Linked DNA regions of Homo sapiens: regions 2 and 3 are each linked to region 1. The links are contacts of gene promoters, found by promoter capture Hi-C in blood cells and fetal thymus (Javierre and others, 2016). All regions are on one chromosome and are shown on one strand. The core of a region is centred on a gene start or on the middle of the fragment in contact, and the rest is flanking DNA. Distances in the headings are between cores, read along the strand shown.

Region 1 (4,051 bases), core at 499-2,998:
ACGTAGAATTAGAACCCACTTCTGTGTTGGTCATTCCTGAAGGATAGATTTCGGGTGGGAAATACATCCCTTACTTTCTCTCTTATCTGAATACCACCCTGGAGCGAGGAAGGGAGGGGCGTCAAATCTCTTATTATCTTCTTGCTTTTGAAAGGATGTGTCTCTAGCCCGTCTCCCACCTACCCCAGTCCTCAGCCTCAGGGTCTGCTCGGATTTATGTCTTCCCTGGGGGCTCCAGGGCCCTAGTCAGGCACCTGCAGATGAGGTGCTGAAAAGGACAGCTCCCAGGGCGCTGCGTGGCGGTGGGGTGGGGGGTCCATCCGGCCCCACCCCCACTCCCACCTACCCCCTCCCCCACACCTAGTGCTTCCAGCCTTTCTACGTCCCGCCCAGAACTGCTAGGGTTGGAAGGCACCTAAACACCCATAGTTGGAGGCTCACAGCCAGGCGCCTGGACTGAGGAAGGAGGCTTGGAACAAGCCCCCCACCCCTTGACAATGTCTCGGGTTCCCTTGAACAAGCTCTGCCTGAAATATTTCAATTCTTGATTCTGCTTACTCCAGAGTCTGCGACTGTATAGCACCCACCCCTCTGATCTCGACCCCTTTGGGGTCAGAAGCAGTCGCCCCATGAAAGTTGTCTCATCCCAGAACCTGACGGCTGAGCCAGAACTCTGGCACTGACTCTTCAATCAGCAGGGCCTTACCTCAGGTTAGGAATGCCCCGGCCTCTCTCTTTCCCTGATACCCCAAAGCCATCTCCTGTCTAGGAAAGTGAGTTTGTCGAGGTGGGTCTTCAGGTAGAAAGAACTCCAGAAAAGTCAGAAGCAGACCGCGACTGGAAGTGGGAGGTGGGAGTAGGGGCCCATGGTTTTCTTTTCGCCCCCCCCAGGAAGGACGACTGCTATCCGATTTGAACAGATTTGCACTAATTTTGCAGCAATCCCACATGCCTTTACAAAAATAATATTATCTTTGTTTTTGTCCTAGAATCCTTGGTTCCATTTCAGTCTCCTCAAAAACGTAAAACAATTTAATAAAAAATGTCAAAGCAGGGTAATGTAAAAGGATTCAAATAAATGACAGTTGCCTGGGTTTCCCTGGCTTTCAGTCTCCTACAGGAACTCCTAGATTAGGGCGTTTGGAGCAGGACTCCCGGGTCAGGGCGCGCCGCTCCATCCTCTGGCCTCCTGGCTGCAGACCAAAGGACCAGAGGGCAGAGAGGTGGACCTGTCTTGGAATTCTCTGCCTACTCCCAACTCTTGCTGCAAACCACCCCAGTCTCCTGCCCTTCCGTCGCCAAACCCCTAGACTTGGGAGGGAATGGAAACCAGAACTTTGGCAGCAAGGAGCATTGCTTGCGCTTTGCCTCAGTTTCCAAAAGGTTCGGGAAAAGAGAGGACAGATTCCTGTTCTAAAGTTGGGCAGAAGGGCAGAGTCCGACAGAGCCTCGTCCCTCATCTTGGGTGCTTTGAGACAGGGAAAATCTCTCGCCGCGTCCAGAACGGAACGCTGGGCTTGGGGTGCGGGGCGGGGACTCCAACTCGCGCGCTACGCTACTCGTGTCTCCTGCTCGGATAGTGACTGTAGAGGTAAGGGTGGGAGGGTGGAGGGAGGCGGATTAATCCCTTAATTACGCCGTGATCGGCGTGGCACCTGCTTTCCGCCTGCCCAGCTCCCAGGGGACTCCGGCACTAGGGGGTGGAGAGAAGGACGAGGGAAGGAGGAGGGCACGAAGAGGCACCGACCGTACCCAGGCGCACCGGCAGGAGAGCGGCACCGTGGCTGCCGCAGCGCGCAGAGGCTGTGGAGGGGCTTACGGCTCCCAGCCCACGGGTCTCAGACCCAGGGGCTGGGCCCCCAGCCCCCAGTCCCGATCCCAGCTGGGTCGAGCCATGCTGCGCTACCTGCTGAAAACGCTGCTGCAGATGAACTTGTTCGCGGACTCTCTGGCCGGGGACATCTCCAACTCCAGCGAGCTGCTCTTGGGCTTCAACTCCTCGCTGGCGGCGCTCAACCACACCCTGCTGCCTCCCGGCGATCCCTCTCTCAACGGTGAGACCCTGCCTCTTGGGGATATGGGATCCTGGGATGGGGATGAGGTGAGAGGGCGGCGTGGAAGGGAAGGAGAAGCGCTCCTGTCCCGAGGTCCGGGATTGAGTGGCGCCTCCCAGCGCCTCCCTGGGTCGTGGGGTCTAAGGGATAATTTGGAGCTTCGAGCACATGAGTGGGGGTACCCGCGGGAGGTCGAGGGCTTGGGAGAAGATGGCTACTGAGTCTTTTTACACCTCCTTCCCTTCCCCTACAACGCCCACCCCAGGTGAGAAGAACCGTTGCTGGTAACGGGCAGGGAAGTCCGAGCTAAGAAAGGCCCGGGCCCAGCGCAGGGAGGGCAGAGGAGGGGGCACAGTCTCCCGCCGGCCTCGGCCAAGCCAGGTCACTCGGTGACCCACCCAGGCAGCTGGTCTTCGGAACCCCGAAGTTTCCCAAGAACTCACTTAGGACCAGAGGAAGCCAAAATGCTGGATGTGTTTGCTACGGAGGGGATAGGGGCGGCGATCATTTTAAGGAAACTTAGAAGTTTGTCTTTCAGCGGCGGGACTCTCAGCCGGCCCACCCCGGCAGAGCTGTGGCGGGCGGGCGGAGCTGGCGGCGAGGTCGTTACCGCTAATTACGGTGATTAATAAATGACTGGGACAGCGCGCTCTCCCCTAGCGCCGCGGGGAAGCTGCGGGAGCCGGCCGCCGCCAGCCTGCGGAGAGGCCGGAGCGCGCCCCCTGCCTGCCGCATCGGGAACCCCCGCTTTACCGGGCGCTTTCGCGTGTGGTTCCCTCCAGGTGCACGCGGTCCCCATCCCTCTGCCTCGACCCACTCGAGTCTAGTGACGAGCACTGTGCTGGGGACTCGAAGGTGGAGAGAAAGGAGACCCTGGCAATATGTGTGTGTTCATGTGTGGGGCACATCAGGTGCTGAGGGAGGAGCCCCAGAGCCTCATTAGCATGGCCATTAGCTATTCATTAGGCTGCAGTCGAAGCATCTCCTGAGACCGGGAAGGGTAGAGGGGGAAATTCCAGGGAAAGGGCGCCTGCAGCTGTGTCTACAGGAATTAGGGGGAAAAGGCCGACCAGAAGGGTGTGGTCCGTATAGAAGGATTGGGGAGAAAGACGATGGGGGAGGAGCCCGATTCTCCAACCTCTTGACCCTCCTAGATTTCCAGGAGGTTAAGCACAGATCCCTTCTCGCTGGCACCCCGCAGAGTCCCGCTTCTGCTCACCTAGCGCGTTTACAGAGTGTTTTCACCATACTTTGTCTCATCTAAGCTCGAAACTTAGTGAGGTATGCAAGGAAGGTGTTGACAGACACATTTTGCCGCCGAGAAAACGCTTTATAGAGTGAATGGTGCCCTAATCGTCACAAAAGCAGCATGAAGCAAAACCTAGCGATAACAGATCAGTCCATTTCCATTACACCTGAGGGCTATACCAAGGGGAAAAAAGAATATTGGGGCCTGGTAGAATTTGATTCAGGTAGAGACTGTAGGAGCCAAGATAAGGTGCATATGCTGGGAACACAAGCCCTTAAATAATGGCAGAGTAGTGACGTTTATCCCCCAAGGGCTTTACATACATTATGGTCTTAGAGCAACCCTATCACTGCTCTCACATCACAAAGAAAGAAACTGAGACTGAGAGAAGTTAAATAATTTGCCCAAGTTCTTACAGCTAGGAAGCGTCAAAGTCTGAGATTCCAGCCCTGGTTGGTTCAACAGCAACACTTGCTCTCAATCACTCCAGTGTTGCTCACCACGGGGTGTTCCAAAATTGGGAATGGGAGGAGATGGAGGAGAAGAGAAGGGTGAAAAGCAGAGATTTCCATTTGGAAGGGAGGAGATGGAGAAAATTACTCTCCCAAGTGGGACAGAAATCGATCTTCTTGACTCCAGGCAATTAAAATAAACTCAGAACAGCGCCAGCACGGGTCAGCCTGTCCAGCTTTGTCTACAACAGAACTTCTAAGAGGGGGGGCAGGAAATGAAACCCAATCTCACAGGC
Region 2 (4,488 bases), core at 1,830-4,329, 280 kb after region 1:
TTCCCAATGTTTGTAGCTCCATTATAACTAAGAATTAATTGAATACTAACAAAATTCTAAAGCAAAAAATTTTTAAGGTAACCATATTAGTCCAATTTGAACCATTACGTTGTTTTCCTGAAATGAAAGCATTGCTGTGGATGGGCCTGTGGCCATGGCTGCTCTGTGGCAGGCTGTGCCTCCGTGGGCTCGCCATTCCTCCCTAGTCCAACTCCTGCAGAACCTTCGTTTCTCTAAAACACCGTGACACCGGTGGGCCTGCCCTTGCCACAGATACATCATTGAAGGGGTGAAGCTGCCTCTGTCTTTTGCCCTTTCAAAGTTCATTCCTTCCTAAGGAAAAGGCAATTAGCAATTCTTATTAAACCTGGCTTTCCTTCATGAACCATGGTGGAATTAACCCTTTGCATCATGGGACAGAATTAATCATTTCTAGATTTGGGATCTTTTTTTAAAAAGTGATCAGATATTCCTCTTTGGGCAGGGGGTGTAAAGGGGGAAGATAAATACTGAAGAATTCAATTTTGCTGTGTGAAGGCCTCGTCTCTGACAAGTAGTTAATCTATTTGTTGATACTGTGAGAGGAGAGGCTCCAGCAGGGAGAAAATTAAAAAACGCTCAGCGCCAGTTGCTACTCTGATGAATCTCATCCAATTATTTAACAGGACACTGCTTGCTGGGTGTACCTTTTTTTTATTGTTTTAATTTTATTTTGTTCTCTATTATGTGTCATATCATTATAAAAGTTTTCTGGATTAAGAAACCCTTTCAGTCTGCCCTTTTTCATTCGGCCACCATTGATTTTTTTTGCTTCTGTGTTCATAACTGAGTTTGAAATTAATGTAGGATTATTATTGATTTATGTATGTATTTATTTTCTTTCCTCTTGGAATGTAGCATCTTAGAGGCTGGATTCTGAATAGAATTTGAAAGAGCATCCGCTGCAGGAGGAGAGTTTTAGGTTAGGGAAGTATTGTTCAGAGTTGTCTGAATGGGGAAGGACTGGAGAACAGTGTTAGTTACACTCCTCAGAAGGACTGAGGCAAGCTGCTCTCCCCAGGGAGAACATTCTTATTGGTTTAGTTTAGGCCTCGCTAGCCTCCAAGACTCGCGTGGATGTAGAAAAAAGGCAGTTTTTCCTCTGGGGGAGTCGCTCTGATCTTGCCGGATTCTGGTTCACTCCTAAAGGCACTGGCAGAGATGAAGTTTTGGCCAAGCTCCCCCATGGCCCAGCGTGCCTGCAAACGACACTGCTCTCCTAACCCCAGCTACAGTTGGGACACACTGATCGGACCTGGGCATGGGTAAAGCTCCATGGTATGTTGTAAGTCACCAACCTCTGAGGTCTATAAGGGTTCCCTGGCCTCACCCAATTTGTGACATAAGCCTTGTGGTTATCACCCCAATCCCTTGGACCCAGGGATAGGGATGCCAGACAAAATACATGCTAGCCAGTCAAACTTGAATTTCAGATAAATGATGAATGATTTTCAAAATGTTAGCGTAGTGTATCCCGAAGATCGCAAGAGACAGATGTATGGCTCTGTTCCTCTCCACCCTGCTCTTCACACACACTCAGAGTCAGAGGCTTGCCCCCTGCTCCATTTTCCCTTGAAGCCTCTAACCTTCAGCAACCTTGATTCCTTCTTCCTTCAGTCTCCTTGCCTCCAGCCGGGAAGCCAGACTCCCCCCTGCTCAGCACTGCTGCTGATGCTTACAGGTTAGGGGAAGGGTCCACGTGGAGGCCCTGGCCTCAGGCCCCCCGCTGCACCCCGCTGCTGATACTTACAGGTTAGGGGAAGGGTCCACGTGGAGGCCCTGGCCTCAGGCCCCCCGCCCCACTCCAGTTCTTGGCCCCAGCGCTGTTCTGTGTTTGAGGAGCCTGTGGGCCTTGGTCTCAGATCTTTCCACACTCCACCCCACCTTTACCCAGACAGCTGTCCCTTGGCCCGCCTGCTCACCTGCCATGTGGTCTGGAACAGGGAGGGTGTTCCTGGAGAAAAGCCTTTGTGGGCTCTCTGAAAAGCCCAGGGTCAGGCAGAGACCCAGCATGGGTCCCAGTGCAGCCCCGCTGTGGTTCTGGAGAGGCTGTGTGGCCATTCTTTTGGCCGGTGGCCACTGCTTCTGGATTTCTTCATTCTCCTTCAGAGGGTCCCGTGAAGACCAAGGCATCGGCTGGTTTACCCTCACTGCTGCGTCCCTCCTTTCGCCCTCCTTCCCCACCACAGCTACCATCTCCCTTCCTCTGTCCGGGACAGGATGTAGGGTTTCCATTCCCTTGAACACACAGGTCACTGGGGCGGAGGGGAAGTCACCAAATTTAATTTAACAAAATCTTCACAACCCAACAGTTTCAGTGTAGTGTGTTCCTAAGGCGACAGAGGAACAGATAGAAGGGAGAAACGAGCGTGGGGAGAACCATTGTTATTTGGGAAAGAATTCAACCAGTTTTCACTCCCTTCCCCCTCCCCCCCTGCTTTGGGCAGAATTCAGCTAGTTATTTTCCAATCCGGTTGTGTGTATAGACACACCACAGCTTCTTTGATCCCTGCCTTTCCTCCTAATAGACAAACTGCTGCCAAAGCTTCCAGCTTCTTTCTCCATGGTGACCAAGCCCCTCATTTCCATTTAATCTCAGCCTCCACCTCCCCTGTACCCCACCCCCTCCTTCATGTGGAGCTGGTTATTTCCTTTCTCTTCTCTCATTTCTCTCCCCTTCCCCCAGCAGTTCACAATCCTCTTCAAAGTTTCAGGAGTAAATATCAATGTGTGATGGTTCCTTCCTTTCTCCCCGACCTGCCTCTTTCTACTCTCTACCCCTTTTCTCTGGTGGCTCCCAAATCTTTGCTCTTCTTGGCTCTTCAAACACATTCCTCTTAGTTCCCCCTCAAACTCCCTTTCCTGCTCCAGTCTCTGGCCTAAGAGATGTGAAGATGCAGAGGAGGGAGGCAGGAGGGACGGGCCTCCCACTTCCCTACTTCCTTTCAGCAGACCCCTGAAGAAAAGAGGCGGAAGGAACTAGGAATGGGATGAGTTGGGTTCTTGCCAAGGGGCCCTCCCTCCCCTCCCTCCTCTGTCTCCGAGCTCTGCCTGCACTCGGGTTCACGCGGGAGAAGATGAATCTGCAGCACCAGCCCCTGCCAGTCTCCCACAGCCAGGGTGGCCAAGCCCTCAGGGCTCTGCAGGACAATCCTCGGCGTCTGCTGCTGCTGCTGCTGCTGCTGGAACCTTCTCAGGGTGTCCTCTGCTGGCAGGCAGGCTTCGCACACAGGTGAACAGAACTCACCACCAGTGAGAAAGCTGGCCGTCTCACACCTTGGCTAGTTTGTGAAACCCAACTCATTCCACCAATGTTGCCTCATGGACTGGCTTTGGAAATTCCATTAATAGCTCCTCTCTGGCCTTGAAGCCTTGCTACCCTAATCCATCAATGACCATTTCACAACCGGGGAATGACATCTGTCCATGTACTCACTTTTTATGGTCCGGTCCTTTACAGCCTACACACATTCTTCCTGAAGATCTCTTACTGGGTCCTCATGATAATGAAATTCCAGCTGTGCAGAGGGAAACTGAAGCTTGCAGAAATTAAATATATTCACCAAATATCTGAACAAAGAAGTAATCGGTGGAGCCAGGGCAAGAACCCAACTCATCCCATTCCTAGTTCCTTCTGCCTCCTTTCTTCAGGGATCTGCTGGAAGGAAGTAGGGAAGTGGGAGGCCGCACACTCTGGCACAAGGCAAAGGGGTTAACAGGAGTGTGTTGACTTTTGTCCTTCTGCCAAGTCCCCTCACATCCAATTTACATTGTTATACAATGCTGATCTGTACCATTCTTGTTAATGTTTCTTTATAGATGTTTTAGTTATGTCTGTCCCATATGTGCGTCTGACTTTTTTCGTAGAATCTGAGCTAGCTCCTTGCTGCACTACTACCCCGGGAATCAGAACAGGTTTCCGCATGCAGCTCTTTGGTGAGAGTGACTTAGGGCCCCTCGAGGGACATGAGAAAACGATTTCGATACCGTGAACACTGGGGCAGGTAGAAACCCAACTTATCCCAGCTTTTCCATCTTCCTGCCAGGCCCCGGCCGGGCTTCCCAGCCTCCTCGTTAGCCTCTGTGAAAAATTAAAGCCCCAATAATCAAATCAACCCTTGTAAATGCTCTAAAAGCCGCTCCAGAGCACCAAGGAGCCAGCAAACCCCAGACCCAAATCCATGTCAAATTTCATAGATATAATTTAAGCAGGGATCAAAACCCACACTAACCTAGTAACTAAGGCTGCTCAAAATGCACTTTATAGTCCATCTGCCTCTCTGCTTCAGGGAGTCTGTATTAAATTTATTGCAAAGTAAAACAAATAAACCCAGGCAAAGGCAAGATGGAAATCTGCATACTGTCAGAGAATTAGCAGCCCTCTCGGGTTAGGAAGGCTGCCTCTCAATTTGCATCTCTAAGGAGTTGTGACTGGGCTGGGGGGCTGGG
Region 3 (4,216 bases), core at 206-2,705, 310 kb after region 1:
TTATTTTTGGCTGGAATGTGGAGAAAAGCAGCTGGCCCTGGGGCCCAGAGCAGACTCTGGAGAGTTCGGATAGGGCCGGGGTGGGTGGGGTAACTGTTAGTTTTCTGCTTAGTAGGAACGTGGCCAATTTGAGTACGGCTCAGTCAAGGCAGTGGGGGTGCCCAGTGGGGGAGGGGGGAGGCTGGGGTGGAGGAGGAGCCAGATCCAGATGGGCCAGAAAGCGGCCACAGAAGCAGCAGGTCACAGGGCACTGAGGCTTGTAAATCCTCCACCTCATTAGGACGTAGTCTTTTGTGTTCAATTTACATCTCTACTCACATCGCCATCCCAAATCTAGTAGAGAGGGAACAAATAGTTGTTGAGGATTCTTGGAAATAGAACCCAGTAATCGGGCATCATGGGCAGGTGTCCTGCCTTGCTGGGGAGGGGCAGCATGGCATTCACCCATTCCCTTTGTTCTTCCATTCAGCAAATATTTATAGAGCATCTTCTGTGTCCCCGGCACAGTCCTAGGCATTGAGGAGACAGCAGCAAAAACAAAGCCAAGACATTGCCATGAAGCCTGTCCTCAAGGAGCTTGCTTGTGGTGGGGGCGGTGTTGAGTATGGGCTTTATTTAGCATCAGGCAAAACTTCATTTAGAGCCTAGCCCTGCTCTTTACCTGTCATATGGATCTAGACAAGTTGCTTAACATCTTCGATCCAGTTACCCCATTTGTAAATTGGGAAGTAAAAGCACATAGCTCACAGGACTGTTGAGGGGCATCTGTTAAGTCCCTAGCACGGTGTCTGGCACAGAGGAGAGGCTCAGTCATGGTTGACTCTCCTCTGTCATGTTATGTTGGAGCTGATGATCCAGTTGGAGGATTACCCCTTTCCCTTTCCTTTTGCTTCCCCAGAACCTGGCTTGGGCCCTTTTCCAGGTCACTGGCGTCTTCAACCAGCGTTGCACAAATAGCCAGTCAATGCTGTGGCCTGGTGCTGCCTGCTGTGCACAGCCCTGGCAGAGGCTGCAGTAGAAAACAGGTACACAGACCCTGAGGACACTTTGGGGATGAGGGGTGTCTGGGGTTAACAGTAGAGAGGGCACATACAATACACAGACCTGAGAGATGATGGACAGAGAGGTGACGTGGAAAAAGCCACCAACCAGGTGTTAACCACAGGAGACAACAGTGGGGCAGGATGTGGAGTGACCAGGACAGAGTGGAGTCACAGGGCAGACTTCTGGGAGGAAGGGAGCCTCTGCAGAGTGTTAGAGGAGGACTGGCTGAGCGGCTGGCCAGTGGGGGCATGAAACATGAGCCTCCTAGGTCATGGTGCTCTGCGCTGTCCTGGGGACTGCAAGGGAGCAGCCTGGACTAGAAGGAGGAGCTTAGCCCCCTCTACCTATCCCAGGTGGCCAGAAGTGGGCTGTCCCTGCCCCAGGAGCACCAGGTAAGGCCTTGTTGTTTGGGTCCAGTTTCCCTTACACACTGAGGGATTTCCGAGCAGACCTTTCCACGTTGGCTTCTCAATGGGTAGAACTTAGACCAATGAGTTGGTGCATGAGGCAAACAAATCACTTCACTCCTGGTTGCAACATGGCTTTCTTACCTAAGATCCCCTTTTTCCCTAAGCAGAGAGAGCAGAGACTATAGGCCCACATCCAGCCCTCTTCCATCTCAGGAACCATGAAGCTGATTGATATCAGGGTGATCGGGATGGTGGAGAGAAAGGGGGGACTGGTAGTCTGAGCATGGTGGATTCCACTGTGGACTCAGCCACTGACTGACTGTGTGACCTTCAACAAGGGACTTACCTTCTCTGGATGTCAGTGTCCTCACTTATCCAATGAGGAGCTTGAACTTGCTCTCAGAGGTCCCCTTCTACTCAAAGTTCCATGATTCCATATTTCCTCCCAATTGGATTGCTTCGTGGCTTTGTGGCTAGGCAATCATTAAAACCACCGCCACCGCCACAAATCCGAGCAAAGAATCATGATGACATTCAACAGACTGCAGGGGCTTGGCCCCTGTGGTATAGAGTCTTAAGGACAGTGGGGGCCTAGGGGTTGGTTCTGACCCTTCTGATGGCCTGCCTGGGACAAATGGATGTTCCTAGCGATAGGGGATGGCTCCATGAGGCAGCAATTTCAGTCTGAAAACTCACTGGCTTCTTCATAAAAAGCAGCATTTACTTTTCTTGTTGAGACAGCGTGGGGCTAGGGGAAGGAACACAGGCTTTGGAGTCAGATTCTGGGTTCTGACCCTGGTTCTACTACAGCTAAGCAGTGTGCACATCACTTAACCCCTCTGAGCCTCCGTTTTCTTGGCTTTATAGGTGAGGATAATAATACTACCAAGCATATTTAAGACTGCTGTGAAAACTCTGGAAGAAAACATCTGTAAGTGGTTGGCACATGGCAAGCTCATGTTGAATAAATATTAGTCTTCTGTCCTAATAAAGCTCATTCTCACATGCCCTTGTGTGATCCTCTTAGCCTTGTGAAGCAGGTAAAATGGGCATTGTATCATTTTATAGGTAAGAGAAACTGGGGCTCAGAGAGTGGCTAAAGTGGCAGGTCCAGGAAGTGGGTGCAGGTGTGTCTGTGTGTAGCAATGGAGCACATTATTTAGGGTAGCCCAGGCTTATCTTCTATGATGATGGTTCTTCCTTTAGCCTTCTGGAGACAACACAAGCCATTCCTGAGCTCTACCTAGTCCTCTCCCAAGATCTTTCATAAAAGAACCAGCTAAACTCATCTCCTCCATTACTCGAATCTTTGGCAAATGCTGGGAAGAGCTACTGTTGTGAAAACCAAAGTCTAGAAGATCTGTTTTTTACTTCCACAAAGTCTTCAGTCTCAGGTGGGGCTGGGAGGGCCCGCACTAAGAGGCAGAGGTAGATTTAGGAGCAGGGGATATCTCATGGCTATGAGTGGGGGCAGCGAGGCTGCAGTGTGGCCTTGGTCTGCCAGCCCAGGTGTAAGCTGGACCCCTGGGTGGAAAGAATTCCCTCGGGGGCTCGTGCCCGTGGTCATCAGCTCACAATCCAGACAGATGTCAAGCCGACAAACACCAAGGGGAGTTTAGCCCGTTAGTGGTAGCATCTGTCTAATTCCTATTAGGTAAGGGGAGGGCACAGGCTCTCTGGGTTCCAGCGTAGCACAATGGGTCTGTGCTGGAGTAGTGGCAAGTGAGCCCTACCCCAGAGCTTCCCCTCACGGTCCTCAGTCCACAGTGCATTGTTAAGGAATGGATGCTCCTCTGTACCAAGTCCTGTGCTAGGTCTAAATGTGATGTGACCCCTCCTTCTGAGGAGCTGTCCTGCCTTCCTCCCAGGAGACCTTCCTCTGTGGAGATTGTCAGTTCTATCTCCAGGTCCAGGGCAGGGAGACAGACGCCCAGAGAGTCAAGTGTATGCCCCGGGCCCAGGGGCGACAGGTGCTTGTTCTCATTCTCATTTCCTCCCTAAGAATCCACCTGTCAACAGGTGTGGCCTGAACCCACTATTTAATTAGTGCCCATTAGCATGCTGTGGGGAACACTCAGTGGCCTCATCCTCTAGGAGCTACATATTTTTGATGAGGAGACCAAACAAAACGCATGTGAAATTGAGAACAAGCTATATGACCTTGACTCATCTCTTAACTTCTCTGGATTTCAGAATCCTCATTTTATACAATGAGCAGGTTATCCTTGGCTCTCTTCAAGCCCCTTTCAAGTCTATTCTCCTACGACTGTCTGGGCTGTACATGCGAGGTCCATCAGGCACCATGAGTTTGTAGAAGGTGATAGGACACCAGAGAACACCTAGCCCAGCAGTGGGAAGGCTGTCTACCTGTAGGCAGGTGAGTGGGTGGGAAGATATATTGCAGAGGTAGCTGGCCTCATTTATTTGTCTGCAGGGGCCGGGAGAGTGCTTGTTGAGAGGGACCCTGCAGAGTCCCCCAGCTTCCAGGAGGGTCAGGGGGACAGAAATCAGGCAGGAGAGCCTGGCAGAGTGGGAACTCAAGACCGCTGCTCCCCTGTGGCCCAAATAGCGGTGGTGGAAGGAGCTCCTCTCCCGGCCCCTCTCCCACTCTGCCCCCCACCCACCGGCTCTGGGAGGAGACAACTGGTTTCATAGTAGGGCAGCGGTCCCCTGGGGCCCTCTTGACTTGTGAGACAGATTCTGGAGGAAAGCCAAGGAGCTCGAAAGGATTCCTCCAGCCTTCCCTGAAGCCTGTTTCCAAG

The links. Contacts are between HindIII fragments. The CHiCAGO score rates a contact against its expected background, and 5 or more counts as called.
Region 2: a contact is called between a fragment that was not itself captured here and the fragment with the promoter of ROBO3 in region 1, in 1 of 17 cell types (non-activated CD4 T cells). The highest score is 5.1, in non-activated CD4 T cells.
Region 3: a contact is called between a fragment that was not itself captured here and the fragment with the promoter of ROBO3 in region 1, in 1 of 17 cell types (neutrophils). The highest score is 5.1, in neutrophils.

Annotation. Positions count from the first base shown.
Region 1 is chr11:124,863,684-124,867,734 of GRCh38, forward strand. ROBO3 (roundabout guidance receptor 3) reads left to right here and starts at 1,749. Exons shown (of 28, transcript NM_022370.4): 1 at 1,749-2,054. The coding sequence starts at 1,895. RefSeq lists an enhancer at 2,065-2,741. The HindIII fragment of the contact is 17,224 bases long and covers 1-4,051 here.
Region 2 is chr11:125,137,386-125,141,873 of GRCh38, forward strand. No RefSeq gene overlaps it. Among named protein-coding and RNA genes, the nearest start is that of PKNOX2-DT, 25 kb to the right of the region's middle. RefSeq lists an enhancer at 4,406-4,488. The HindIII fragment of the contact is 994 bases long and covers 2,583-3,576 here.
Region 3 is chr11:125,170,797-125,175,012 of GRCh38, forward strand. The region is part of intron 1 of PKNOX2 (PBX/knotted 1 homeobox 2); the gene reads left to right. Among named protein-coding and RNA genes, the nearest start is that of PKNOX2, 8.2 kb to the left of the region's middle. The HindIII fragment of the contact is 7,759 bases long and covers 1-4,216 here.